Linked DNA regions of Homo sapiens: regions 1 and 3 are each linked to region 2. The links are contacts of gene promoters, found by promoter capture Hi-C in blood cells and fetal thymus (Javierre and others, 2016). All regions are on one chromosome and are shown on one strand. The core of a region is centred on a gene start or on the middle of the fragment in contact, and the rest is flanking DNA. Distances in the headings are between cores, read along the strand shown. Region 1 has its middle 360 kb from the start of LINC03024. Region 2 holds the start of ZFAT (zinc finger and AT-hook domain containing). Region 3 has its middle 340 kb from the start of LINC03024.

What was found. Contacts are between HindIII fragments. The CHiCAGO score rates a contact against its expected background, and 5 or more counts as called.
Region 1: a contact is called between a fragment that was not itself captured here and the fragment with the promoter of ZFAT in region 2, in 3 of 17 cell types (M0 macrophages, naive CD4 T cells and non-activated CD4 T cells). The highest score is 7.8, in M0 macrophages.
Region 3: a fragment that was not itself captured here is called in contact with the fragment with the promoter of ZFAT in region 2 in 1 of 17 cell types (monocytes); the score reaches 6.8 in monocytes.

Annotation. Positions count from the first base shown.
Region 1 is chr8:134,038,231-134,043,172 of GRCh38, forward strand. No RefSeq gene overlaps it. Among named protein-coding and RNA genes, the nearest start is that of LINC03024, 360 kb to the left of the region's middle. The HindIII fragment of the contact is 4,207 bases long and covers 1,172-4,942 here.
Region 2 is chr8:134,711,747-134,716,259 of GRCh38, forward strand. ZFAT (zinc finger and AT-hook domain containing) reads right to left here and starts at 1,285. Exons shown (of 16, transcript NM_020863.4): 1 at 1,099-1,285. The coding sequence starts at 1,117. RefSeq lists an enhancer at 1,117-1,296. The HindIII fragment of the contact is 8,105 bases long and covers 568-4,513 here.
Region 3 is chr8:134,019,741-134,024,268 of GRCh38, forward strand. No RefSeq gene overlaps it. Among named protein-coding and RNA genes, the nearest start is that of LINC03024, 340 kb to the left of the region's middle. The HindIII fragment of the contact is 2,553 bases long and covers 1,250-3,802 here.

The DNA of each region.
Region 1 (4,942 bases), core at 2,025-4,524, 670 kb before region 2:
CCACATACTTAGTCAAACAGTTTTCTGGCTACATCTGTGACGGGATGTTTTGGATGAGGTCAACATTTGAATTGCTAGACTGAATATAGCTGATTGCCTTCTGTAATGTGGGTAGGCCTCATCCAATTAGTTGACAGCCTCAAGAGAATAAAGAGGCTGACCCTCCCAAGGGTAACAGGGAACCCTCCTGCTTTGTTGTCATGAATTGTGATGTAAGTTATTTTCCCATCTTCAGACTAGAACTGAAACATCCGCTCTTCCTGTGTCTTCCACCCCTCAGACTGGAACTATACTTTTGGCTCTCCTGGGTCTCCAGCTTGCAAACTGCAGATCTTGGGACTCCTCAGCTTTTAAAACTGCATGAGCTAATTCCTTTCACTCTTTTTTATGGCTTCATAATATTCCACGGTGTATATGTACCGCATTTTCTTTATTCAATCTGTCAGTGATGGGCATTTAGGCAGATTCCATGTCTTTGCTATTGTGAATAGTGCTGCAATTAACATATAGGTGCATGTGTCTTTGTGGTAGAATGATTTCTATTCCTTTGAGCGTATATCAAGTAATGGGATTGGTGGGTTGAATGATAGTTCTGCTTTTAGCTCTTTGAGGAATCACCACACTGCTTTACACAATGGTTGAACTAATTTACACTCCCACCAATAGTGTATAAGCATTTCCTTTCCTCCACAATCTTCCCAGCATCTGTTATTTTTGACTTTTTAATAGTAGCTATTCTGAGTGGTGTGAGATGGTATCTCATTGTGGTTTTGATTTGCATTTCTCTAATAATCAGTGATATTGAGCTTGTTTCATACGCTTGTTGGTTGCATGTATGTTTTCTTTTGAGAAGTGTCTGTTCATGTCCTTTGCCCACTTCTTAATGGTTTTTTTTTATTGTAAATTTGTTTAAGTTCCTTATAGATGCTGGGTATTAGACCTTTGTCTGATGCATAGTTTGCAAATATTTTCTCTCATTCTGTAGGTTGTCTGTTTATTCTGTTGATAGTTTTCCTTTGTAGAAGCTATTAAGTTTAATTAGATCCCATTTGTCAATCTTTACTTTTGTTGCAATTGCTTTTGGTGTGTTTGTGCAGGGTCTTTATTTGTAGCTGACTTCTTATATTTGGCTTCACAGAGAGGTATGTTAGCAAAATATTTTTCGTGTTGAAGCTTTGTGGTGTGATCCAGTAGGTGGCACTCAGGCATAGTGGTCAGTTGGTAGGCTCTTGCTCAGTTGTGTGTCTCCCTTGTATTTCCTCATAGTTGCAGCCATGTTTCCTCTCAATGCTCTGCAAGTGAGGGTTCCTCTTCCACTTAAGTCGTGGCTATAGACTACAAATTGGCACCCCCAGGCCGCCCACCACAGTTTTGGTATGTTCTCAGGGTTTATGTTTCCTCTCCAATTTGGAGGCAGCAGAGTAAGAGACCTTAGTAGTGGTTGTGGCTGAGGGTCTTCTGCTTGTCTGAAGGAGTTCATAAATAGGATATAAAAGTTATTAGTTTTGTAAGAGAAGACTAAAAATTTAGATTTCATTAAAATTAAGAACATTGGTTCACATCAATAAACATTGTTAAGAGAACAAAAAGGAAAGCCACTGGGAGAGACAAGATATTTATAAGACATATATTTGACAAAAATCTAATCTAGAATATATAAATAGGGCCTATGAATTGATAAGCAAACTATAAACAATCCAATAGGAAAGTTGATTTAAAAATTTGAAGGTACTTCAAGAAAGAAAAGGCAGTAAAGATTAAAAAGGTGCTCAATAAAGGATCCATCAGAGGCATGCAAATTCAAACGAAATAAAATATCACTACCCACCACAGGAATGGGCAACATTTTAAAAAAGTCGAACCAAATCAAGGATTATTGAATATGTGAAACAATTGTAACCTTCATTTCATTCTGGAAAACTGTTTAGCAGTATCTATATAGACCTTAATTATGACCCAACATTTCTACTTCTAGATATATATCCAACAGAAATTCATACCAATGAGCAACAAAAAGTCAAGTGCAGGAATATTTATAGCAACATTTGATTTATAATGAGAAATGGAAATTTCTATTAAAAATAAAATAGAAAAAGAAGTCACAATATATTATTCATCAAAAGGTATATTATATAACAATGAAAATAAATTTTATATATATATATATATATATCTCCAACAACATGGGTTTAAATCTCAATATAATATTGAATTTTAAAAGCCAGATACAGGACAGTAAGTATTCTATGATTCCATCAAAATATCTTGCAAAAATAGACAAATCTAACTTGTTCTGCTAGAAGTCAGAGTGGTGGTTACCTTTATAAAGGAGGCAAAAGAAGGATTAAGAAGAGGTGCAAGCAGGATTTCTAGAGCTGGTGATGGTATCATTCTATTTCCCAATCTGTGTTGTGGTTACATGTATGTCTTCATTTTTTAAAAGTGCATCAAACTTACACTTATAAATTATGCACTTTTCTGGATATATAGTTCAGTAAAAAAAATTACAAATGCTAGAAAAAAAGATAAAACCTAAAGAATATAGAGTCAGAAAATAATAAAGATATGAGTAAAAATTCATGTTAGAAAAAACAAAAGGATAAAAAACTCAATAAACCAAAAGCCATTTTTTTTGGAAAAAATAAGAAGACAAAAATAGAGCAATAAAATGGCAATTCTATAGCAAATCTACTCAAGAAATAAAGGGAAATAATTTACACTACTGTTTTAATCATAATTATATATTTATATTTATGTAATAAATAATGTAAATAAATATTTTTTACATTATTGACATCAGGCAGTGGGTTAGAGCCAGATGGTTTCAATTTCAATCAATTGGTAATGGGGAACACCTGAATGTTTTTGAGCAAGGAAATGATATGATCTGATTGTCTTCTGGAAAGATCTCTCTGGGACTAGTATGTAGAATGATTGAATGACCAGTATGTAGAATGGTTCTACTAATATGTACAATGATTGAAGAATAACTATTTTTTAAAAGAAATAAATTTTGCTCCAGAAATAAAGGGAAATTTTAAAAAGAATACTTTTCTTGGTCCTTCTCAGTTTATGCTATAGTTGTATTTGTTTGAGGCATTACTTTTCAAGTGCTTTTAAACCAGAGCTGAGGTTTATTTTCATCATTCTTTTCATTAATCTGAGGGGCAATGATCCATTGTTTGTGACTCAACATTCTGGATTTGCATAATAGAAGACAGGCAATTTGTTTCAAACTCACAGAAAAATATTTCAACACATTTGTCTTTTTCAGCATCCTTACCAGTTATGACATTGACATCATGAAAAAATACTAATTCTAAAATAGTCACAGATATTTAATTTAACTTGCAATGCATTTGCTTCTACTCAACAATAACTATGTGTCTAGCACCTGGTTTTTATTTAAATTTTATTAATTCCATAAGCAAATACTGAGCTTCCAGTTTGTGCTGGCCACAGAGCTTGATCCTACCATGCAACAGTGTGTAAAACAACTACCTCCCTGAAGGAACTCTAACCCTGTGGGGCCAAGAAATAGACATACATAAACAATTACATTACAGGGCTAGGCATGGTGGCTCATGCCTTTAATCCTAGTACTTTGGGAGGCCAAGATGGGAGGATCACTTGAGCCTAAGAGTTTGAGATCAGCCTGGGAATCATGGCAAGACCCTGTCTCCACGAAAATAAAAGTTAAGAAAAAAAATTAGTTGGGTGTGGTGGGATATGCCTTCAGCCCCAGCTACTCAGGAGGCTGAGGTAGGAAGATAGCTTGAGCCTGGGAGGTTGAGGCTGCAGTTAGCTGTGATCATGTCACTGTACTATAGGCTGGGTGACAGAGAAGACTCTGTCTCAAAAAAAAACCTTACATTATAGAGTATTATATGCTGCAATAGAAATATGTCTGGAGTCATATGGTAGATCAGAGGAGAAAACAATTAAGTTTGTTGAGAAGATAGAAAAGGGTTGAAGGAAGATTTCACACAATCTGAGCATTGAAGTACATGTGGGTTTTGTCTGATGAGAAACAGGGATGAGCTGAAAGCACTATAGGAAGAATCATTAGCATGCAGTCCTGGACAGGCATATTGTGTGCAGAAAGGCCCAGAGATAATTATGGGAACATTCAAAGGACCCCATTTGTGAAGCAACTTCAGGCCCTGCTACGATGCTCAATTTCAGCACAAAGAGGCAAGCCCAGCAGACTCCTAGAGAGATGGATGAGAAGGTCCAGTGTGATTTTGAAAGATAACATTCCGTTCACTCTGCTCTGAAGGCCCTGTGAGTGTCTTGCCATCACTTGACTATACTATGAATGTTCTTTCAGATCTTCCTGCTTTGTGCGGTGCAAAGTGCTATACTTAGTCTGCTTTTAAAGCATTGCCTGCCAGCATAAAAGTCACATGTCCTTGGAACTATTTCTGAGCCTCCTGGCATAGTCAGTTTCTCCCTCCACAGTATTTGTGTGTTGCCTTGTACATATGCTATTACAAGATTCACCCCAATTAATGATAAATACGCTTCCAGTCCTTCACTGGATTTGGGGATATCTGATGACACTGGATGCTGCCTTTCTTATTTATAGCCTTAGTACCCTGAAGAGCTCTAAGTATGTAATGAATATTTAATCAATGTTTGTTAAACATAGCTCTCAATCATACAGTTAATTGTGTTTAAGAAAATGGCCTATCACATAACCGTAATGACCCAGAAGAATTTTTGTATTGTGAAATATCGCACCATTTTTGTTTGATAATTTTGAATTTTCAAAATTAGCATCTCCTATGATAAAAGAAACTAATAAATGCTTTGAAAAGAAAGTCAAGAAAAAGTCCTAACATTTACTTGACACTTACTAGAAGCTCATACTATGCTAAGAATATGTGTCATAGTTAATCATGTGTGTCAGCTTGGCTAGGCTCTTGTGTCCAGATGTTTG
Region 2 (4,513 bases), core at 35-2,534:
CAGGTGGAGGCAGGACTACGACTGGGACTGCTCTTTACCCCTGCCTGGCGTGCAGAGGGGATCCTTGCAAAGCTGTTATTTGAACTAAAGTCAGGAAAGGTGTCCCTGGGGGTTAGAGGTAGGACACGCTACTTCCTTCAGCATGGGGACACACACTACAGATGTTTCAGTAGATGAACTGGTAGGCTCGGAAGATAAAGCTGGTGAGAGGCAGCTGTGCGGGGCATCTCCAAAAGGTCACTTGGACTCCAGCAAAAAAAGCCAGACTGATGGGCAGGCGTGATCAGTTAGCGCGTTCGTTCTTTCATTCACTAAGTATATAGTGAACACTTACATGAGCCAAGCCCTATTCTAAGAAGATGGAGGTACAAGTCAGGCGAGCACGCAGGAGTTTGGATTTTAGCCCAAGTTGGAGGAAGTTAATTTTTAAAGCCCCAGCTCTGTCGTTTTTAAACTGTGTAAAGTTGACCTCTCTGAACTTCTGTTCCTCATAATAAATGACCTACAAATTAGAGTTCTCAAGAGAGCTGAGCAGCAAAACGTGTTAAGTCAGTGCCCAAATGTGGAAGCTTGTGGTAATTACAGGTGAAGGACCCCAAGCTCAAGGTTAAATGACTTGCACCGGGTGTCAAGTGGAAGATCTGTCACTCTATTAGGTCCAGCCGGCGGCCGGGAAGCCTGCAGGAGGTACTCATTTCGCCAAGGAGGAATCCGAGGCCAGGCAAGAAGGAAGCCCCGCCAAGGTCCAGTCAAAGAGCTGGCATCGCCGGGATTCGAACCTCGCGCCCACTGCGTTCCGTCGCTGGCCCGCGCCCCAACGCCACCCATTGCCGTGGAAACGGCCGGGCGCATGCTCTCCCACTCGCTCCCGCCTTGCTTTTTTTTTTTTTTTGCGGCGGGATACCCCAGCGACTGAACGTGAGCCGCAGAACGCAACTACGTTCGCTCTCCTCCCCAGACCCGGATCCCTCCGCGGCCGGCGGCCGGCGGCCGGCGGCCGGCGCACTGCTTCCCGACTCGACGCTCGAAACGGCTTTCCGCGCGCCGCGCCGCGCCCCACCCCCACCCCGTCTCACCCCAACCCCCAGCCCGGCTCACCTGCCGCCCGCGTCTCCATGGCAACGCCCCACCGCGGAGGAAAAAAAAGCCTCGGGCTCTTCCGGGCCCCCTCCCGTGCCGACCGAGGGGGCGGGGCGCCCTGCTGACGCTTCGCTTTTTATTTTTATTTTTTTAAGAAAAGAGCCGGCGAGGTTATGGCGAATCTGCGGCATCCAACATGGCGGATGGAGTCTTCGCCCTCCTCCCCACGGGGCGCAGACGCCTGCGTAGCGGACGTCCGCTTCGGGTGACCCTCCCCCGGCGCCGAGCGCGGCCCGGCAGGGCCGAGCTAACGCGCATGCTCGCAGTCGGAGGCCGTGCTTTTTATCCCACTTCACGGATTCCGCTGCGCCGCGTTTTGAGCCACGCCCAGGGAGGGGCCCTCGGGAGGTCCGGAGCGCGGATCTCGGGGTCAGGAGTCTGGCGGTTGTGCCAGGCCTCTGCTAGCGCGACCCTAGACCCGCGGCATGTGGGGCCGCCGAGCTGGGCGTGCAAGGAGAGTTCTGGGTGCGCTTCGTGTCCCAGCTCTACCTCTCACTACCTAACTTGGGGCAGCGAATTAACTTTTCTTGCTCTCAGTTTACTGATGTGTCCATCGGGGTGCTCCCAACCTGCATCCCGCTCAAAGCTGCGGCGTTTCCCGAAGCGTGGGGTGCTTTCCTTTGGGCCACCCGGCTGGGTTTTAGGGGCTACAGAGCACTGAGCGGCCTACGATCACACGTGACAAGGCGACTTCCTCCTCTCTCGTCTCTTTTTGTCCCACAACAAGTCTGCACTGGATGTGCGCGCCTCCAACACCCGCTCATTCATTTCTCTGCTTGTGGCACAGCCTTCGGCAGGCAGCTGAGTCTGGTGGAAATTTAATGACTTTGTTTTTGGTTTTGATGTTAAGGTGTTTAGCTCCAACACTGTAGTCCTCGGCTCAAATGATATCTTCCAGCCCCTAACCCTCACCCCCCGAAACCCATCTAAAGTAACCCTCCAAGACACTTCATATTTTCTACGTAGCATCCATTCCTATCTGTCATTATCTCCCTCCCTTACCTCTGTCAATGGTCACCCCGTTAGCCTCAGAAACAAACTGAGCCTGACAGTTATTTATTTCATGAGTAATGAGTTGATGTGGTCCATGTTCTAAGGTCATTTTCTGTTCATGACAAATAACGTTTTTCACTTACAGTAGTCATATAAAGTTTTTAAATTGTTCGTTTACATTTTCAAAAATCAGTCAACTTAAAATGGTGTACATGCTGCAAAGACATGCCCCCCCCCCCCCAAAAAAAAAAAGTGTAAAAGCAGACTTCAGGAGACTGAAGTTTGGGAAACTGATTTGTGTTCATGGTTCCCCTGAAATGCTAGTCTTTGCCTGTTCTTCTTTTCCTGGAATAACCCTCTTTGGTTGCTGCTCAACATGAAATTCTCGGACAGCCCTGAAGTTCACACTTCATGTTCCCACAGCTCTGGTCTCACTGGCCTAGCTCCATCCCCCACTTCTCTGTTTGCACAGCGTTCATCCTCACTAGACTGAGCTTCCTGAGCAGCCCTTATAGGTCCTTTTCATCTTGTTTTCTCAGCGCCTGTTGCATAGTCATATTACTGAATGAACACTTCGTTCTGGGGTCACTTATTTTTTAGGAGGAAAACTCCCTTGGGCATTGAGCTTCAGGATGACTCATCTGATTTCTCAGGAGACTGCCCGCCTGCTCCTTAACCCTGTTCTTGGGAAATACGGAACCATGAAAAGACCCTAAAGTTGTCCAGTCTGTTAAATATATGCTCACAGATATAGCCTCCCCCTTCTTCATTTCATCCTCGCAATCTGGAAGGTTAAGTTGGGCAATATGATTATTGTCCTTTTCCAGATGAGAAAATGGAATGTTCAGAGTGGTCAAATGGCTTTCTGAGATTACACAGCAAAATAGTGAAGAGCCAGGTGTGGATCTCGCCTCTCCATGCCCAGTGTTCCTCTCCCCACCACATCTAAAATGTACCCAAACTGCCCCCCAGGCCTCCAGGAGAGCCTCCAAGAGAGCCAGTTCCAAGACAGCCACAGAGTCGCTTCACAGCCACCACGTCCTCCACCACAAGATACATGGCTAGGTGGGGCCCATCAGAATCTTTATTTGGAAATGAACTGCTCAAAAAGCTGCATTGATGAGCGTTTCCTTTTAGAACTATAAATATTTACAATAATCATTATTTTGCTGTGAATCGATTTCTGTCAGGAAATTAGAGTTGTTCTGGGTTGCTGACAGTATTGGTTTTGTGCCGGTTTGCCTTTCTCACAGCAGCGTTTAAATGTTGTTTATTGATTAGCAGATGGATTGCTCCTAGATGTTGTGACCAAACGAATTTTGGAAATGAAACAATTTAAAATTTGTCTCAAAACCCAATTACCTCAGACTGCTGAAGACAAATTAAAAGAAGAAATTGTGGACTGTGGATGATGGTTCTGGGTTAATTATTTGGAAAGCTATGATTTTCTCCACTATTCCCATGGCATTTTCTTCCTCCTACCCATTCATCATTCAGAGAAGAGTTACTGAGCACCTATTATTACTGGAAACTGTCCTGGCCATAGGCAGATGGAAATGACTAAGAGATGGCCCCTTTCTGTGGGGGAATCCAGGTTCGTAAATGGAGAGATGAGTCCACAGCTGGCTCTTCCACGGCCTTACTATGTGATTTGCACATTTTCAATCAGCAAACATCTCTATTCTTTCTATTTGCCAGTAATATTTCAGAATGCCTTCAATTAATGAAGACACATTTGTGGAATTGGATGTAAATCACTCGAAAGTATATAATTAATGGCAAGCTGCCTCGGTGATGGTTCCTAGAAGAGAGCGGCTTCCCAGCTGACCACTGGTGGCAGTTGGCCTCTTGAAGCTAGTATGTGAATTAATTTGTGTCAATAAATTTATCGACATGAAATGGTATTTAGTTATATAAGAAATATAATTTGCACAACTGAATATATTCGTGTCAATAATTTTATCATTATATCCAATATCTTTATGAGAAATAGACATTTACATGAAAACAATAATTTAGGAACATAATTTCACAGGATGCTTTCTTGAAAGAAGGTTTTGATAAAGGATACATACAGGCGACCTCAAAATAATGGATCTTGGCTGGGCATGGTGGCTCATGCCTGTAATCCTAACACTATGGGAGGCCAAGGCTGGAGGATTGCTTGAGCCCAGGAGCTCAAGGCTGCAATAAGCTGTGATCATGCCACTGCACTCCTCCAACCTGGGCAGCAACAAAGCAAGACCCTGTCCCTAAAATTTATTTATATATATATATATATGTATATATGCACACACACACACATATATATATATATGCATATGTATGCACACACACATATATATCTATAAAATGATAAAATCAGAGGTGGGAATAATCA
Region 3 (4,528 bases), core at 1,276-3,775, 690 kb before region 2:
TTCCTTCATAAATAACCCACCTGAGGTAGTATCTTCATAGCAGTGTGAAAACAGACTAATACAATGGAGATACTGTGACTCTGCTGAGGTGGCTGTAGACTAAGGAAGACTTTCCTTCAGTCATTTTCTTATGTGAAACATTGGCATGAGCTCTGGAAAGGAAAGGCAAGACACACATTGACCACATATCATACACTAGACACTGGATGGTGCCTCATGCTATTTAATCCTTCCCTGTAGCTATCCTGCAAGATGGGCGATATGACCCTGCTTTACAGATGTGGAAGCTGAGGCTTAGGGAAGGCCAGCTAGATGACTCCCAATCCTGTACATGCCACCTGGGCTCCAGAAGAGCAGCTAGAGGGCCTCCCCTCTGTGCTCAAGCCTAGAGAGGTAATGCGACGCAACCCAGGTGGACCTTCAGGCCCCAAGTTTGTGGAAGAACTGATGCAAATGGAGAAACAGGAAGATTCCACTGCTAAACCAAAGTCCCTCCTCTGCACACTGGTCACCTGGAGCAGTCTCTTTTCCCTACACTGTACCATCATTAAGCTCATTCAAACACCATCTCTGTGTAGCTGCTTCACGGGGTGCCTTAGACCTAAGCACATGTATTTTTTTTATTTATCAACATGAGATCATGTCTCCTCATCTCTAAACTGAAGGCAAAGATCCTGCTGTGTGTTGGCCCCATCCAGGGGCCCTGAGAATCCAATGTAACCACAGTAATCCTGACAGCTATCACTCAGATACCTCTCATTAGGTGCCAGGCATGATTATGAGCACATAGGATAACTCATAATTCACAAAATCTTCATATCAGCAATGTGATACCCTGTTATTAGCACATTCATTTTGCAGATGAGGAAAACCAGGTACAGAGAGATTAAGTAACTTGCTCAAGGTCACACGGTTGCTAAGGGGAGGAGTCAGTATTTGAACTCAGGGAGTCTCTGATCATAGGCTTTGTGCTCTGGAGGGGATGGGAGGGCTCCCTGGAAGCTTACGGGGTTATGGGCATTCTAGAGTCAGATCTGACCTCACTCAGCCTGACTCCTTCCCCATGAAGAAGTCTGACCGACAGAGTTTTATCTCATCATTACCAGTGCAGTCTTGCTGGCTCAGGTCCTTGGAAATATTGCTATTCTATGCTATATCCTAACATTAATACTCAGTTAATGCTCTACTATTGAAAATCATGCTCAATTACTTTTAGCATAAAATTTCAGCTGCTTCCCACTGCATTGGAAGCTTTGAAATAGGCAATTGTCTCTTACCTCCTCTTTCACTTCTGCCCATTCTCCCTTTAGCAAGCTCATGTGCTGGGAAGTCACCTTTGTTCTATGATTGCAGCTTTTCCCCTGTGTGGAAGAGACTGTACTCACTGTACTGTCTCCTTGAAATGCTCTTCGCTGGCTATTCAGAGGGCAGACTCCATCTCAACCTCTGGGTCTGGAAACTTCCCTTCCACCTCCCCAATACCTGAAGTTCTCTGCTCCCTGCCCTCTCTTTCCCTCTATCTCATCAACCCACTTATTGTCTGGACCTTAACTAGAGTTGCTACCCCAATTCACAAATTATATCCTCAGGGTTTGTAGAAACCCATCTGGATAAAACTTGTATTTTTTTTTAAATTGTGGAAAAATACATACAACATAAAAACATAAAATTTACCATCTTATTTTTAAGTGCCCAGGTCAGTAGCATTACGAACATTTACATTATTGTGCAACCAATCTCTAGAATGTTTTCCTCTTGCAACACTGAAATTCCATGCACATTAAACAACTTCCCCTTTCCCCTCCCTCCAGCCCCTGGCAGCCACTCTTCTACTTTTTCTTTCTATAATTTTGACTACTCTAGGTACCTCATATAAGTGGGGTCATAGAGCATTTGTCCTTTTATGTCCGGCTTATTTCACTTAGCATAATGTCCTCGTGGTTCATCCATGTCATAGCATGTGCCAGAATTTCCTTTCTTTTTAAGGCTGAGTAATACCCCATTGTGCATATACACCACATTTTCTTTCTCCATTCATTCCATCAATGGACACTTGGGATGCTTCTACTTTTTGGTGACTGTGAATAATGCTGCTAAGAGCATAGCTGTACACAAACCCCTGCATTTTAAACTCCTGTATTTACTGTTTGGGCTGTAGACTTCCAGGGCTGAGCTCCACACACTGGACTGTTTCTAGCTCCCTGACATTATCAGGCTCCTCCTCTTCCCCTTACCGCCATAATCCACAGCTGTGCCTTCTCCATGCCTCTGGGAGCTATTAATTAGGACAATTTTCTCTTCTTAGTTTTTAGGATATTCATTTTGACTCAACTCATCACGTATATAAGTAGGGTGGATGACTGAGTCTACAGTGTGGTTTCTGATAACTTGGTGGGGACATTATTATAAACCCCATACAATCTCTTTAAAATGTCCTCTTCCCCTGCTAGATGGTACTTTAAATACTCATTGCAATGAACAGACTTCCTTACCACAAGGGGCACTTAGTGGGGAACTGAGACCTGTTAACCGAGGGGACATTATGACCTAATGATACCAAGGAGTCAGTGATGCTCAGTGAACGAGTGCTCAAAAAAGGTTCTCGAAGACAGTAAACAGGAGCGGAAGAGGAACAGGAGGCAGCAGAAGAAAGGCCTCAAGAGAAATGTAGGAGACTGCAGACACTAGATCTGGACATTGTTGGAGCTGGGACTACATCTCCAGGAGGAGAAGCATGGACCCATCTAACTGACCTTATGAGAGGTGGGATCCTAGGAGCCAGCTCTAGGGATGGGGGCTGTGTAGGAAGCAGATGCTAGATCCAGGTCAAGAGATTCCTCCCTTGACTGCTTAGCTGCTTATGGTTTTATGAACGTGGACAAGTTAATATTCCTACACGGCTACTTTCTCTTGAGGAGAACAAACCAGAATAATAATATGTATCTTACAGTGTTTTGTTGATTAAAAACGAATTCACATGAGTGGGCTGAGGAGCATGGCTGTGTCTCTGCAGATGTTCCATAAAAATTGTTCATCCTGGTTGGGTGCGGTGACTCATGCCTGTAATCTCAGCACTTTGGGAGGCCGAAGTGGGCGGATCATGAGGTCAGGAGATCGAGACCACCCTAGCCAACATGGTGAAACCCCATCCCTACTAAAAATACAAAAATTAGCTAGGCATGGTGGTGCGCACCTGTAGTCCTTGCTACTTGGAAGGCTGAGGCAGGAGAATCGCTTGAACCCAGGAGGTGGAGGTTGCAGTGAGCCAAGGTCGTGCCATTGCACTCCAGCCTGGTGACAGAGTGACACTCTGTCTCAAAAACAAAAATTGTTCATCCTCTCTTGTTCTTGCAAACCTCACATCAGGCATAGTTCTATGCCCAGAATTATGCCTTGATAAATATTTGGGTGGAAGAAAGGAAAGATAGATGATGTTTTCTCCCCATCAGCTGCCTTCTCAGGGAATTTGGATCTCCAATTTGGGAGATTTACAGAACACTTCATGAGGACTGGAGATGCCCAGAATGAGCCTGCACTCCCCAGTTGAGTGTTTCCAGAATAAATGGAAGATGAGTGGTGTTGTACATGGGTGAGGCAATGTCTATCATTTGAACTAAAAAGGACAAGTAAACACATAGTTCACAGTATAAATAAAACCAGAGACATTCCCTCATCAGCAACCTTCATATTCTGAAAGAAAGCCCACAAAGCACCTGAAAGACATTCATAGACCAGCTGCCATGAGACCTCTCTGCACCAAGAACCTTTCTTTCCTTACTCTCTTGTTACTAGCTTGAAATCAAGCTTCATGCTTGAAACTCAGCTAGTAGCACCCCCACCAGGACACACAGTGGTCTGGAGTTAGATTGTAAACACTGGGCCCCTTATGCTGGCTGGGATTTTCCCGGGCACATTGGTGGAGCTTTCTTCTGAAATGTCACACAACGCAGCTGTGTACCCTGAAAGAGGTTTTGGAATGACAGTCTGGAGAATGGGTGGAGTCTGCCCATGAGGAGGGTCAGAAATCCCTAAACTCCTAAGGAGTCAACTACTTAAAGGAACCCAACAGTTCTACAAAACCACAGAGAAATGTCAACATCACTGGACCAGATCTACTTCCCCTAAAAAACATAAGGCTTGGCTTGACAATACTGAAGAAATCAAATAGGAAATGCTTATTTTCTGCTCATGTCTACCATGTCCTTATTTGCCTTTAAAAGAAAAATAAAAGATAATTTGGTCTAGATAATTATTATTATCATCCTTATTGTCAACATTGTCATCTTCATCCTTACAAGGAATTAAAATACCATAGTGATATATCTAGGCTGAATCTTAATAACTGAGGAAGAAGCAACTAGATGGAGAAGGCAGACAAGGACTGAGGGGGTGTGGGAGCTGAAAATGTCCCAGGCAGAGAGTGCAGAGTGAGCTAAGACATGCTGTTCCACCCTAATCTCTTTTTGGTTACTTAATTTTACCCCCTCTTCATCTGTTATTTTGTGTTTGTCCATGTCTTTCAACCTGT